Linked DNA regions of Homo sapiens: regions 1, 3 and 4 are each linked to region 2. The links are contacts of gene promoters, found by promoter capture Hi-C in blood cells and fetal thymus (Javierre and others, 2016). All regions are on one chromosome and are shown on one strand. Each heading gives the region's core, a stretch centred on a gene start or on the middle of the fragment in contact. The rest is flanking DNA. Distances are from core to core; before and after follow the strand shown.

The links. The method cuts DNA at HindIII sites, captures the fragments that hold promoters and counts their contacts. A CHiCAGO score of 5 or more calls a contact.
Region 1: a contact is called between a fragment that was not itself captured here and the fragment with the promoter of CORO1C in region 2, in 2 of 17 cell types (fetal thymus and neutrophils). The highest score is 6.9, in fetal thymus.
Region 3: a fragment that was not itself captured here is called in contact with the fragment with the promoter of CORO1C in region 2 in 1 of 17 cell types (neutrophils); the score reaches 5.7 in neutrophils.
Region 4: a fragment that was not itself captured here is called in contact with the fragment with the promoter of CORO1C in region 2 in 1 of 17 cell types (monocytes); the score reaches 5.7 in monocytes.

Annotation. Positions count from the first base shown.
Region 1 is chr12:108,509,501-108,512,669 of GRCh38, reverse strand. No RefSeq gene overlaps it. Among named protein-coding and RNA genes, the nearest start is that of FICD, 4.2 kb to the left of the region's middle. The HindIII fragment of the contact is 3,412 bases long and covers 195-3,169 here.
Region 2 is chr12:108,730,163-108,733,573 of GRCh38, reverse strand. CORO1C (coronin 1C) reads left to right here and starts at 2,056. Exons shown (of 11, transcript NM_014325.4): 1 at 2,056-2,145. It overlaps LOC105369969 (a long non-coding RNA gene), which reads right to left and starts at 165. Exons shown (of 3, transcript XR_945328.4): 1 at 122-165. RefSeq lists an enhancer at 1,382-2,185 and silencers at 1,798-2,307, 2,498-2,777. The HindIII fragment of the contact is 3,828 bases long and covers 846-3,411 here.
Region 3 is chr12:108,543,060-108,546,524 of GRCh38, reverse strand. It overlaps SART3 (spliceosome associated factor 3, U4/U6 recycling protein), which reads left to right. Exons shown (of 19, transcript NM_014706.4): 4 at 1,202-1,386; 5 at 2,047-2,098; 6 at 3,373-3,465. Among named protein-coding and RNA genes, the nearest start is that of SART3, 16 kb to the left of the region's middle. The HindIII fragment of the contact is 8,616 bases long and covers 1-3,465 here.
Region 4 is chr12:108,866,071-108,869,322 of GRCh38, reverse strand. No RefSeq gene overlaps it. Among named protein-coding and RNA genes, the nearest start is that of SSH1, 10 kb to the right of the region's middle. The HindIII fragment of the contact is 1,742 bases long and covers 530-2,271 here.

The sequences.
Region 1 (3,169 bases), core at 651-3,150, 220 kb after region 2:
TGACCTTGAACAAGTCACTTATCCTCACTGAGCTGGGTATTAAGGGACTAGTGGACCCCTGTCCACACCCAGGTATAAAGCAATGTAGTCCTCTGCTTCTAAAGGCACCCTCCTCTCTTTGTTAAGTCTTTAATTAGCTTAGGCTACGAGTAGTAAATCCAGAGGCTATGCAGGAACTGCTAATGAGCAAAGCTTCCTGGCCATGAGACAATAGGTAGAGGTGGGGAGTATGGCAGATTTGAGAGCACATGCCTTGTCTAAAGTGGGCAGCAGCTTCTCAGCTCGAACCCGTATTTATTAGCTGGGATGCAGTCTAAAAGTGGATAGAGTTTTCAATTTTTCAAAATAAATGTGAGGCCTAGATTTTTTAAGCAGTATCTCCAGATTTTAAGGCAGTTGGCATGGCTGCCGGCTGGCTTTCCAGGGCCGCCAGATTGTAACCCCTTTGTAGCCGGTAGTGGAAGATGGCAGGGGAACGCAGGAAGAAAAGACTCAAAGGACTATTACAGCAAAATGAGCCCATTACTGTGTCTGGCCACCAGGGGGCAGTAATTCACCTGACATCACTTCCCTCCTTCAATCTCCTTGTCAGGAGTTTACACTCAAAAAATTTTAACTCTCGACTTTGTCTGCATTCAGCTGTGTTGAATGCACAAAATATGGTCCCTGAAGCGATATTGAAAAGTTGGCTTTCTCCATCTTAAGCATTCTGTACTAGGTGAAAATTGCCTCCCCGTGGCCCACGGAGGAGTTTTCTAAACGCTTACCTTGACACATGACAAAGAACCCAGAAAGTGGCTGCATGGGAAATATGTCCATTATGCAAAACAAAACAAGACAAAAAACCCTTCTGCATGTTTAAGGAACAGCAGTCAAGCGCTTCTTGCTGGCAGAGTCGGATTCTATTGCTTAGGAAAAACAAAACTCCCCGGCTTGAGGCTACATGGCATTGAGTTGGCTGCAGAATGACTCAACTTCATTAAAAAGAAAATACACCACACCTGTTCTTGCTTCTTCATTTCTCTCATCTTTCCCCACCCCTGATTTTTTTTTCTCTGTCTAACTTAATGCTGTGGCTGAAAAAGAGAGCCCAGCAGCCCTTCTCCCTGCTACTGATTAATCCTCCTTTTAAAACATACCTGGTGGGGGCCAGGCGCGGTGGCTCACACCTGTAATCCCAGCACTTTGGGAGGCCGAGGCGGGCAGATCACGACGTCAGGCGATCGAGATCATCCAGGCTAACACAGTGAAACCCCGTCTCTACTAAAAATACAAAAAATTAGCCTGGCGTGGTGATGGGCGCCTGTAGTCCGAGCTACTCGGGAGGCTGAGGCAGGAGAATGGCGTGAACCCGGGAGGCGGAGCTTGCAGTGAGCTGAGATCGCACCACTGCACTCCAGCCTGGGCAACAGAGCGAGACTCCGTCTCAAAAAAAAAAAAAAAAAAGAAAAGACATACCTGGTGGGGTCAGACCCAGTTTCTGAGGCATCCCCAAGAAACAGGGCTTGGGGGACCCCATGTGAGTGTCCCTGGGCTAAAGGCTTGTGTTCTGGCCTCAGGATGTTTCTCATGTCGTATGGTCTCAAATCACCAATATTTCAAAACTCAGACATGCAGATGAGTGTTGTTTTCAAAGCAAATCATTTGGGGAAGTGGTACTTCTTACTTGGAAAAAATTAAACGTAACTGCTTTTCACCTGTTGAACAACTATTTTATTTCTTAAAAACAACATGAGATCATTACAGATATAGAATCCACAAAAAACAAGAAAAAAATACACATTCACAATTCTACTCCATATTTCTCTATGCACATTTATTTATTTTTGAGACAGGGTCTCACTCTGTCACCCAGGCTGGAGGGCAGTGGCACGATCTCGGCTCGCTGCAGCCTCAACCTCCTGGGCTTAAATGATCCTCCTGCCTCAGCCTCCCAAGTAGCTGGGACTATAGGTGTGTGCCACCACGACTGGCTAATTAAAAAAATTTTTTTTTTGTAGACACAGGGTCTCACTCTGTCACCCAGGCTGGAGTGCAGTGGCATGATCTCAGCTCACTACAGCCTCAACCTCCTGGGCTTAAGTGATCCTCCTGCCTCAGCCTCCCAAGTAGCTGGGACTACAGGTGCATGCCACCATGACTGGCTAATTTAAACAATTTTTTTTTTTTGTAGAGATGGGGTTTCACTATGTTGCCCAGTCTGGTCTTCAACCCCTGGGCTCAAGAAATCCTCCCACCTCAGCCTCCCAAAGTGCTGGGATTATAAGCATGAGCCGCCACAACTGGCCACATCTATTTTTAAATGATGAAATATTTCTGATATCCAAAAGACATCAACAGTGCAATGGGCGCTTGTATACCTGCCATCCAGTTTAAGAAATACCATGTCACCAATACACTGAAGCCCCATGGGCCTTCTCCCCTTCACATGCCCTTCCCTCCCTCCCAGAGGTCACTACCATGTTGAATTTGGTGCTGCTGCCTCCATGCATGGCTTTTTGCTTTTATCCACATGCATGTATCCATAAATAATATATAATGATGTTATGCAGATTTTTATGCATGATATATACCGTGTGGATCCTTCTGCATTTTGGGGCTCAGAATTATGTCTTAGAGATTTATGCTCATGCTGATATGCATAGTTCTGGTTCATTAATTTTACAGTGCTGTATAGTATTCCATTAACAATTTATTTCCCATTTACCTGTTGATGGGCATTTGGATTGTTTCCAATTTTTCCCTATCACAGACTGCAGTGAAATACTTGTATGATTTTTTGGCACATGTGTGGAAGTTTCTCTAGGACAAAGTTTCTCAAAGAATCATTTGGGGGGGTTTTGGAAAAACAACCACATGGGGCCTTGCTCCAGACCAACGAAATCCTCTAACTGCTCCTCTGATCCTACTGTATCTTAGCTACAAGTGGAAATAATCGTACCCACCATGCTATCTCATTTTTGGTAGTGGTGACAACTGAGCACTTACTGTGTGCTAAGTAATTTGTATGGTATTTGATTGAATTTTTGTAACAACGCCATGAACTAGATATTATTAAACCCACTTTATAGAAGGTGAAAATGAGGCTCAGATAAATTAAGTAATTAGTCTGAGGTCACACAGCAAGCAAGTGGCAGAGCCAGGGTTCACAACCAGTCTTCCTGACTCA
Region 2 (3,411 bases), core at 807-3,306:
TCCCCAAAGCACTCAGAACTCACTGCTATCAATGCCCCTGTTTAATTTATTAACTAGTGGATTTTAAAAAAACAACTTTTATTGTTCAAAACTATTGAATTGTGGGCACAGTGGCTCATACCTGTAATCCCAACACTTTGGGAGGCCGAGGTGGGAGGATCTCTTGAGCTCAGGAGTTTGAGGCCAGCCTGGGCAACATAGCAGGACTTCATCTCTACAGAAAAATGTTAAGAATTTAGCTGGGCATGGTGGCGCGTGCCTGTAGTCTCAGCTACGTGGGAGGCTGAGGTGGGAGGATTACTTGAGCCCGGGAGGTCCATGCTGCAGTGAGCCGTGGACTGCCCCACTGCACTCCAGCCTGAGCGACAGAGCAAGACTGTGTCTCAAACAAACAAAAACAAGTGAATTGTTTTTGAGCCTCACCATATGGCAGGCACTGCAGTAGGCGTTTCATCACGTTTATCTCATTTAAATAAAGTGAGTGGCAAATCTTACTGCAGGAAGGGTGCTGAATTCCTCCTATTAGGAGTGGCTGCTTGAAGGCAAAATAAAACCCATCCTTTCATTTTGTTGAGTCCCAGCAGTAGCAGCAACAGGTACTGTCGAGCGTTTATCACAAGCCAGGAACTCTTCTAAGTATATTACTATTATCCTGGTGCAAAAGTAATCGCGGTTTTTGCCATTCCTTTTAATGGCAAAAAGTAATGCCACGATCATGGCTGCTAATATGATCTCATGGAACCCTGTGAGGGAGGGGCTGTTATCCCCATTTTACAGATAAAGAAACTGACCCTTAGAGAGGATAAATAATTTGCTGTGATAGCTGTCTTAGTTCAGGTCAAGCTTGATTTAAATAACACACGTTTCTGAGGCTGACGCTTAAAATAAAAAATCCCCCTGTGAATGGCAAAGATGCCTTGCTTTGGGAAGTAAATAGCCCTACCCCACAGTCGGTTCGGTTCCCCAGGCTCTGTTTCCTCAAATCTCGGTATTTCAGAGCTTGGTGTTTCAGAAAGGGACTTTAGCTATTAACAGGACAACTTCTTCATGCTGAAGATTAGGGGACTCAGGCCCAAAGAGGTAAGAGAACTGTCCCAGGTCACACAGTCTGACGGCCGCAGAGCTGAGGCTCAAATTCCCGTGCTCCGACTTTCAGGCCTGGGCCGCCGAGTTATTAAGGGACTCTGGCCAGGGAAAGGAAGGGAGGAACCCTGAAGTTTCCATTCCCTCACCTGCGAAATGGGGTCAATCACGGGCCCTCTTTGGGGTTACGTGGGTGTGGCCCAGCCCAGGGGCGGCCACTCTGCACTAGGAATGTGACAATGGACGGTTCAGGGAGGGCTGGAACGTCGGCAGTCCTCAAGGGAGGTGGTGGTAGGGTGTGACGGAGCCAGGGCGGAGCCTCGGGAGCCAGAGGCGTGGATTCGCGAATTCGGGGCGGGGCTTGGGGTTTAAACGTTGAGATGGGGTAGTGGGCGGGGCTTGAGATGCTAGGAATAGGGTTGCGGTCCTTGGGCGGGGCTTCTGGAAGACGGGGCGGGGCTTTGTGAGGCCGCTGGGCGAGTTCTGAAGCAGTGGGAGGGGAGCCGGGCTTAGGGAAGCAGGAGGCTGGTTTAAGGACTCGGATAGGCAGTGCGCGGGGCTCAGAGGAGCTAATGTTCCTGTATTGAGGGGCTCTGGGGGAATCTTTGAGGAGCCAGGGGACGTGGCCTTGCAGAGCCTAGCGGGTCAGTGGGCGGGGCTCTAAGAACCCCGCTCCGGGGTCTAAGGAGCAGTGGGCGTTGCTCGGAGGCGCCTGTGGGCGTGGCCCTCTACCACTCAGATGACTGGAGAGCGGGGCGTGCGCTTGGGCACCGCCTGCATCCCTCGGTGCGACCAGAGGGGGCGTAGCGAGGCGTGGAACGTGGGGTGGGAAGCGGGCTTCCCCTCCGGAAGTGGGCGTGGCGCACAGCGGCCCGGCAGCCCTGGTTGGGTCCCGCGCGGCGCGGGGGCGGGGCCTACGCGCGGTGGCGGGGGCGGTGGCGGCTGCCCGCGCCCCTCCCCCGCACGGCGCTCAGTGCCAGGCTGGAGGCGGCAGCGGTTGGAGGCTTCGCCCGGCTTTGCAGCGGGGACTTCGGCGGCGGCGCCTCAGGCACCTCGGCCCGGGTGAGCGGCTCGCGCCCGGCGGGGGCAGCCTGAGAGCGAGTCGGGCGGGCGGACCTGTCCTCTGAGCATGTGCCTGCGCCGCCTGACAGGAGCCGGCGGGGCGAGGGGCAGGGCTAGGTGGAGGGGACAGTGCTGGGTGGGCGCGCGGGGCGCGGGTTCACGGGCTGGGTTGCAAGGGGTTAGGGCCGGGGGCTGCTGTCGGGGGCTCGGGGAAAGGGAGTTGGGGACCGAACCAGGTGGCGTGGGGAGCGTGAAGCAGGGTCCCTGTGGGGAGGAGGCTTTCGAGGTCCGGAACGCTCCTGGCCGGGTGCGGAGCCGCGGGCCGAGGTGGGACGAGGCTGCCCAGGGAAGGCTTTTAGGGGTCAGGGATCGCCTGCTTGGGCGAGGTGCTGGGAGGGAAGGGCTGCTTCGGGCGAGGCGTAGAGCCCGGGGGCTCCAGGCCTGGGGACTGGGTTTGGGCCGCCCCAGGGAACGAGTGGGTGGGGGCGGGTAGGGGCCGGGCTCACGTGGGGCCGGGGCGAGCTGGGCCCTGCGTCGGGAGGGGCGAGGGCGGCCGCCTGGCCTGCGGGTTTCCTGGCTTTGGGTGCGAGACCAGCTCTGGGCCCTGCAGATCTCGGTTGGGGGTCAGGCGGGGCGGGGCAGAGCTGGAGCTGGAGTAATGTGGGTGGGGGCGGCTTGGGAAGAGGCTGAGCCCGGCCAAGGGAGCAGAGGGCTGGGACTGGCTGGGGGTTGGGAGGGGAGGAACGAAGCAGGAAGGCTGTCGGATCGGGGGCCCAGGGTGTCCGAGTGAACTGGGTGATTCAGAGGTGTGTTTCCCTAATAGCGGGGCAGCTGGCGAGGGACGCAGTAAAAAGGAGCGAGGTGCAGGTGGGGCCCCGCTGCGCCGAAATGACTGAGGATGAGGTCAGACGTGGAGGGTGGGAATGCAGAAACCGAGCTCTCCCGCCTGTCCCCACCGGCGCACGCTCCCCAGCTCTCCGTCTCTCAAATGATTTGAATGTGTTGGGGGAAGTGGCAGGCTGCGGTGAGAGCTGAGAAGAAAGGGGCTTCCTCTTGGAGGGAGGCGCTGGCCCTGGCATCCTTTTTTGGGAGTGTTCAAAGGATTTTGAACGCTGGAAAAGGAATCGTAGGCTTTACTGCATCACGATTTAGAAACACATCCTATATTTGGCCGTAATGTAGGCTGCCCTTGTTTTGTGGTGTCTAAAGTGCTTGCTCTACATGTTGCAAACGTGGGATTCAGAGTGCGAAGCAAATTGCAAGTTG
Region 3 (3,465 bases), core at 503-3,002, 190 kb after region 2:
AAGCATTAAAAAAATTTCCCCTTTCAGACTGGGCATAGTGGCTCACGCCTGTAATCCCAGAACTTTGGGAGGCTGAGGCAGGTATATCACGAGTTCAGGAGATTGAGACCATCCTGGCTATCACGGTGAAACCCCATCTCTACTAAAAATACAAAAAACTAGCTAGGCGTGGTGGCATGCTCCTGTTGTCCCAGCTACTTGGGAGGCTGAGGCAGGAGAATTGCTTGAACCCAGGAGGTAGAGGGTGCAGTGAGCCGTGATCATGCCTCTGCACGCTAGCCTGGGCGACAGAACGAGACTGTGTCTCAACAAACAAACAATTTCCCCTTTCAGATTTCGTACCCTCTTCCTTGTTGATTTCCCAATGGGAGCAGTCCCCCTGTGAGAAGCATTGCTACTAACCAGATAGACTGTTCTGAGATGATAGAGAATTTTTTGTGTATCTTTACAAGCCAAGAAGAATTCACAGTTTTTTGGTTTATAATCTGAATAATGAAAATAAGCGGTGTTTTATGAATATAAAACTATATTATATGTGTGTTTTTTTTTTTTTTTTTGAGAGAGAGTCTTACTCTTTCGCTTAGGCTGGAGTGCAGTGGTGTGATCTCGGCTCACTGCAACCTCCCCCCTACCCAGGTTCAAGCGATTCTCCTGCCTCAGCCTCCTGAGTAGCTGGGACTACAGGTGCCTGCCACAACGCCTGGCTAATTTTTCTATTTTTAGTAGAGACGGGGTTTCACCATATTGGCCAGGCTGGTTTCGATCTCCTGACCTTGTGGTCCTCCCACGTCAGTCTCCCAAAGTGCTGGGATTACAGGCGTGAGCCACCGCACCTGGCCAAATGTGTTTTTAAAAACTATACCTGTATCTCTGCTCTGTGGCCCATGAGTCTTCTTTTAGAGCCACTGATAATTTTAGCAGTGCATGGTGTTCCCATGATTTCTGATGATCCTGTTACCCCCTTCTTACTCTCTCACAGGCATTGTTAATAGCACCATTTATCTTTTTCTGAGGATCTATGGTCTTCCCCAGACTGTAATGTTTTTTAGTCCTTTATGGTCATCTCTGCTGTTAGGCCTTCACTGTCATTTAGTGCTGCTGTCTGAGTACTTTTTTGGTAGGCACATTTCGTTTGTTATGCATCAGTTTTGATATTTGGGTATTTTATATCCCAAACTAATTGAACACTTCTTATTTTTAGGTCCTAACATTTGGCTAGAGTATGGCCAGTACTCAGTTGGTGGGATTGGTCAGAAAGGTGGCCTTGAGAAAGTTCGCTCCGTGTTTGAAAGGGCTCTCTCGTCTGTTGGTTTACATATGACCAAAGGACTCGCCCTCTGGGAGGCTTACCGAGAGTTTGAAAGTGCGATTGTGGAAGCTGCTCGGGTGAGTACCTGTGGTTGTCTCTGAACGGGTTGGGGCTGTCTTTGTAAGTCTCCTTGGAAGGATTATTTTGAAACACATGTCCATGATGAATCTTGCAGTTCATATAGTTAACAAAATGGTCTTTGCCAATCCCTTAGTGGTGGGGTGATAGATAACCTTTTTTTATACCCCTTCTAGCATTTGGTACAATATGTATGGAAGAGGTCGTATAAATTTTTTTAGCTTGAACTGAAAATTTGTTGAGATATTTTTTGAAGTAGAAAGAACCAGAGTTGGCCAAGTGCGGTGGCTCATGCTTGTAATTCCAGCAGTTTGGGAGGCTGAGGCCAGAGGATCACTTGAGTTCAGGAGTACAAGACCAGCCTGGGCAATGTAGTGAGTCCCCATCTCTACAAGAACTAAAACATTAGCTGGGCATGATGGCGTATGCCTGTGGTCCTAGCTACTCAGGACTCTGAGGTGGGAGGATTGCATGAGCCTGGAGTGTGAGGCTGTAGTGAGTTGTGATCACACCACCACACTCCAGCCAGGGTGACAGCAAGAACCCTTCTCAAAAGAAAAAGAAAGAACCACAGTTTGTCATTTACTACTAATTTGCTTCTTTAGCCCGTAGCTGGCTTCCTTTCCCCTTTTGACCGGGAACAAACCTTTGATTCACAGCTTGAGAAAGTCCACAGTCTTTTCCGGCGACAGTTGGCGATCCCACTCTATGGTAAGAGAAACTGACATGTCAACAGCCAGCCCTCTATGGTTTTTAAAATGCTTTGGGGAACAACATGTAGTTAGACCTTTCCCACCATCCTGTGAGGCAGGTAAAGCTGGTGTTCTTACTCTCCTTGGATATTGTCTCTTTGGATGAGGTCCTTGGTAAAAACATCTTGAATGTTAGTGCTTAAGAGGGTTGTGAGGGTCAGAGGCAGGACTGGAAGCCAGACTCCCTGACTCCCAGGTGAGAGCTCTTTTCTCCTTTGAGACCTAGTTGGAAGGGCAGAGATAGGGTCTCTGAAAGGAATAGTGAATGACACCTGTATTTTTTGGGGAAACTTCATTGAACAAGAGTTCCATTATAATCATTTTCTCTTCACAAGTAACCTCTTCCATAACAGCAGGAATTTTACATGAGTTTAGATCATTCCTCTATGGGAGGGATTTGGTTCAGAAGTGCAGTTGATTGGAAGTACTCATAAGTGAGTTTCTTGGGGTTTGGTAAAGAGTTTCCTTATTTGGTAAATACATTTTGGCAATCTAAGCCTTTGAGTCTTTGGAGCTATGAGTGTGTGCGTGCTGGGAGGATTTTTCTGAGTATGGGAAGAGTTTGTCATGGCTGTTGTGTTTGTTCCCTAGACACGGGCATGTGTTGTACATACTCAGAACCTCTGGGCAACTTTACTGGAGCCCACATGTTATTTCTCTTCATGGTTTATTGGATTTAACAAGTTATAAAGTAGTCGTCTAATCAAATGGTTGGGTATCATGCAGAAAACACTAGAGCTGAGCCGGCTTGCAGATTTCACCTACCAGCGTGAAACAACCTAGCATAATGATTAGAGTGCGAACTTGAGCCAGACTGCTTGGGTTCACAGCCTTGCTCTACCATTAACTGTAGACGAGCAACTGAACCCTCTGCTTCAGTTTCCTCAACTGCAAAATGAGGATCACAATAGACTACCTTGTAGAGTGGGATGACTGAATGAGTTAGTGGATGTGAAGTGGTAGAACATAGGTAACACTGGGTAAGTGTTGTTAAATCGTTGCCACTAGTGTCATTGACTGATTAATTAGCTGGGAGGGTTGCCTGGGACATTGTTTTAAGACAGATTCTACAGACAGGTTTGGGCTCAGCAGAAATCAGAATTTGATCAGTAAGAGCTGCCATGCCACAGATGTGGGAGGGGCTAGTGGCACCTGAGTCTCATGGCTTAATCTGTGTTTGGGTTGATAAAGCCCAATGGCAAGACCCACGGGGCTGAATCCATCTTTCAATAGATATGGAGGCCACATTTGCAGAGTATGAAGAATGGTCAGAAGACCCAATACCAGAGTCAGTAATTCAGAACTATAACAAAGCACTACAGCAGC
Region 4 (3,252 bases), core at 151-2,650, 140 kb before region 2:
GGTTACTTTTCTGGGGTGGTTTAGTGATTAAGACCAGGGACTCTGGAGTCAGGCAGACTGGGCTGGTGCCCCAGCTCCACCTTTCCTATCCATGTGTCCTTGGGCTGGTACTTAGGGAAACCAGGGCACAGTGGGGAGGCCATGTGGCAGGAGGCCCAAGGGCACACATGTAAATATCAAACATGCTTGATGTCATCTCACCTCCACGGTTTCCAGGATCTCAGACAAGTCCCCTCTTGAAACCTCCTAAGTAAAATGGGAAGGGGAACAGGTAATAGCAGTACTTTACTCTCAGAAAAATTAAATAAAGAGGGACTTTCTCCTATGGTGGAATTAAGATGAAACAGTGACTGTCACGTGATGCAACGCACATATATACCCAATAAATGTTAGCTTGTCCAGTTATCTGTTGTAAAGATCCCTACACTCAAAAGAATCAAGTTGGGATTTCAATAGCATTTCCATTTAATTTAATTTCGAGAGGTTGTTAACTCTACCATACTGAGTCTTCCCATCCAAAAACAAAGCTTCTCCATCTCTCCATTGATGCCCTCTTTTTTTTCCCCTTTTGGTAGAGTTTTTTAACTCTTCACATTTTTCTTTCAAAAATGGGGTCTACTGTCCTACGCTGTTTGGTGGCCTGCTTTTCTTTTCTTCCACTTAATATTTTATAAAAATCTTTCTGTACTAGTGCATGGTTTTATAATATTTTTATGGCAGCATATAAAAGTTATCTATTGCTGCATAACAAGTTACCTTAAAATTTAGCAGCTTAAAACAATAAACATTTATTATCTCATACATTTTCTTTGGGCCTGGAATCTGGAAGCAGCTCAGCTGGGCAGCTCTGGCTCAGAGTGTCTCATGAGGTTGCACTCCAGATGTTGGCCATGGCTGTGATCTCATCTGAAGGCTTGAATGGGGGGCCTGGCACAATGGCTCTTGCCTGTAATCTCAGCACTTTGGGGGTCCGAGATAGGCAGATCACTGGAGGCCAGGAGTTTGAGACCAGCCTGGGCAACATGGCGAAACCCTGTCTCTACTAAAAATACAAAAAAACTAGCTGGGCATGGTAGCGCACGCCTGTAATCCCAGCTACTCGGGAGGCTGAAGAATGAGAATCGCTTGAACCCAGGAGGCAGAGGTTACAGCGAGCCAAGATGGTGCCACTGTACTCCAGCCTGGGAGACAGAATGAGACCCGGTCTCAATTAATAAGTAAATAAATAAATAAAGGCCTGACTGGGGCTGGAGGATCCATTTTCAAGGTGGTGCATTCACATGACAATAGGTTAGTGCTGGTCATTGGCAGGAGACCTCAGTTTCTTGCCATGCGGCCCTCTCTCTTTGGCTGCTTAAATGTCCTAAATGTCCCCATGACATGGTAGCTGGATTCCCCCAGAATGAGAAATCCAAGAGACAGCAAGACAGCAGCTTCAGTGTCTTTTATGACCCCTAGCCTCAGAAGCCACATGCTGTAGTATCTGTGATATCCTAGTGGTTACACAGGTCAGTTCTATGTATTGTGTGAAGAGACTCCACAGGGCATGAATATCAGGAGATGAGGACCACTGAGAGCTATCTAGGAGGGATATCACATGCATATACCCAATTGATCTAACCAATGCTTTCTTATAGGACATTAATCATTCCATATTAAGAGTTGAGATTCTTTTGTTTGTTTTTTGAGACAGAGTCTCACTCCGTCACCCAGGCTGGAGTGCAGTGGTGTGATCTTGGCTCATTGCAACCTCCATCTCCTGGATTCAAGTGATTCTTGTGCATCAGCCTCCTGAGTAGCTGGGACTACAGGTGCATGCCACCATGCCTGGCTAATTTTTGTATTTTTAGTAGAGACAGGTTTTTGCCATGTTGGCCAGGCTGGTCTCTAACTCGTGGCCTCAAGTGATTCACCCACCTTGGCCTCCCAGTGCTGGGATTACCAGCATGGGCCACCGCACCCCACCAAGAGTTGAGATTCTGAGGCCCAGCAAGGGTCAGTGTGTTGCTTGTGATCATAGTGAATAAAAGGCAAATTCAGGTGAATACACCCCTGGCAGAGGCCAGGGAACACCTTGATCTGGCAAGCAGGTTAAATGAAGGGATGGGTAGAGGAAGGGAGGCTTCAGCCAACTCCGCACAGGGGCAGAGATCCCTCAACTGCCTGGCTGCTGGTGCCTATTGACCCACCCAGAGAGATGCTTTGTCAGAAGCCCCAGATACCTGACTTCCATATCTAACACTGGACACCCTGGCCCAGGTGGCAGAAGCTTTGAGTCCTCTGAACACCGTTCCCTGCAAATAGTGGAACATCCAAACTGTCACCTCCCAGGCTAGAAAGGCCAACAACCCATGTATGTGGTCTGGGGTCTAGTTGGCCTGGGTTCAAACCCTAGCCTTGCTCTGAGCCTCATTTTCTGCAGCTGATGAAATGATCATGTTAGATGCGTTCCTTTCCTGTGGCTGCTGTAACAAAGTGCCACAAACTGGGAGGCTTAAACCACAGGCATTTACTCTCACAGTTCTGGAGCCTGGAACTCTGAAATCGAGTTGCTGGTTTCTTCAGAAGGCCACGCAAATCTGCTCCTCACTTCTCACTCCTAGCTCTGGTGGTTTGCTGACCATCTCGGGTGCTCTTTGGCTTGTGGCAGCACAACTACAACCTTCAGGAAGCATTTTCCCCTTGGCTCTGGGTCCAAATTTCCCCTTTTATTATTTATTTATTTATTTGTTTGTTTGTTTATTTTTTGAGATGCAGTTTCGCTCTTGTTGCCCAGGCTGGAGTGCAATGGCGCAATCTCAGTTCACTGCAACCTCCACCCCCCGGGTTCAAGTGATTCTCCTGCCTCAGCCTCCGAAGTAGCTGGGATTACAGACATGCACCACCACGCCTGGCTAATTTTGTATTTGTAATAGAGACAGGGTTTCTCCATGTTTGTCAGGCTGGTCTCGAACTCCTGACCTCAGGTGATCCACCCGCCTTGGTCTCCCAAAGTGCTGGGATTATAGGCATGAGCTACCGCGCCCAGCAAATTTCCCCCTTTTCATACGGACACAGTCATATGCGAATAGGGCCCCGCCCTAATGACCTCATCTTAACTTGATCAGCTGCAAAGACCTCATTTCCAAATAAGGTCCCATTCACAGGGACTAGTGAATTTTGTGGGGACACAATTCAACCCAATACCTTAGGTACTATTAGTAAATAGGACAGCACGCTCTGCCTTTCCTGCATAGTATGCTGTTCAATTGA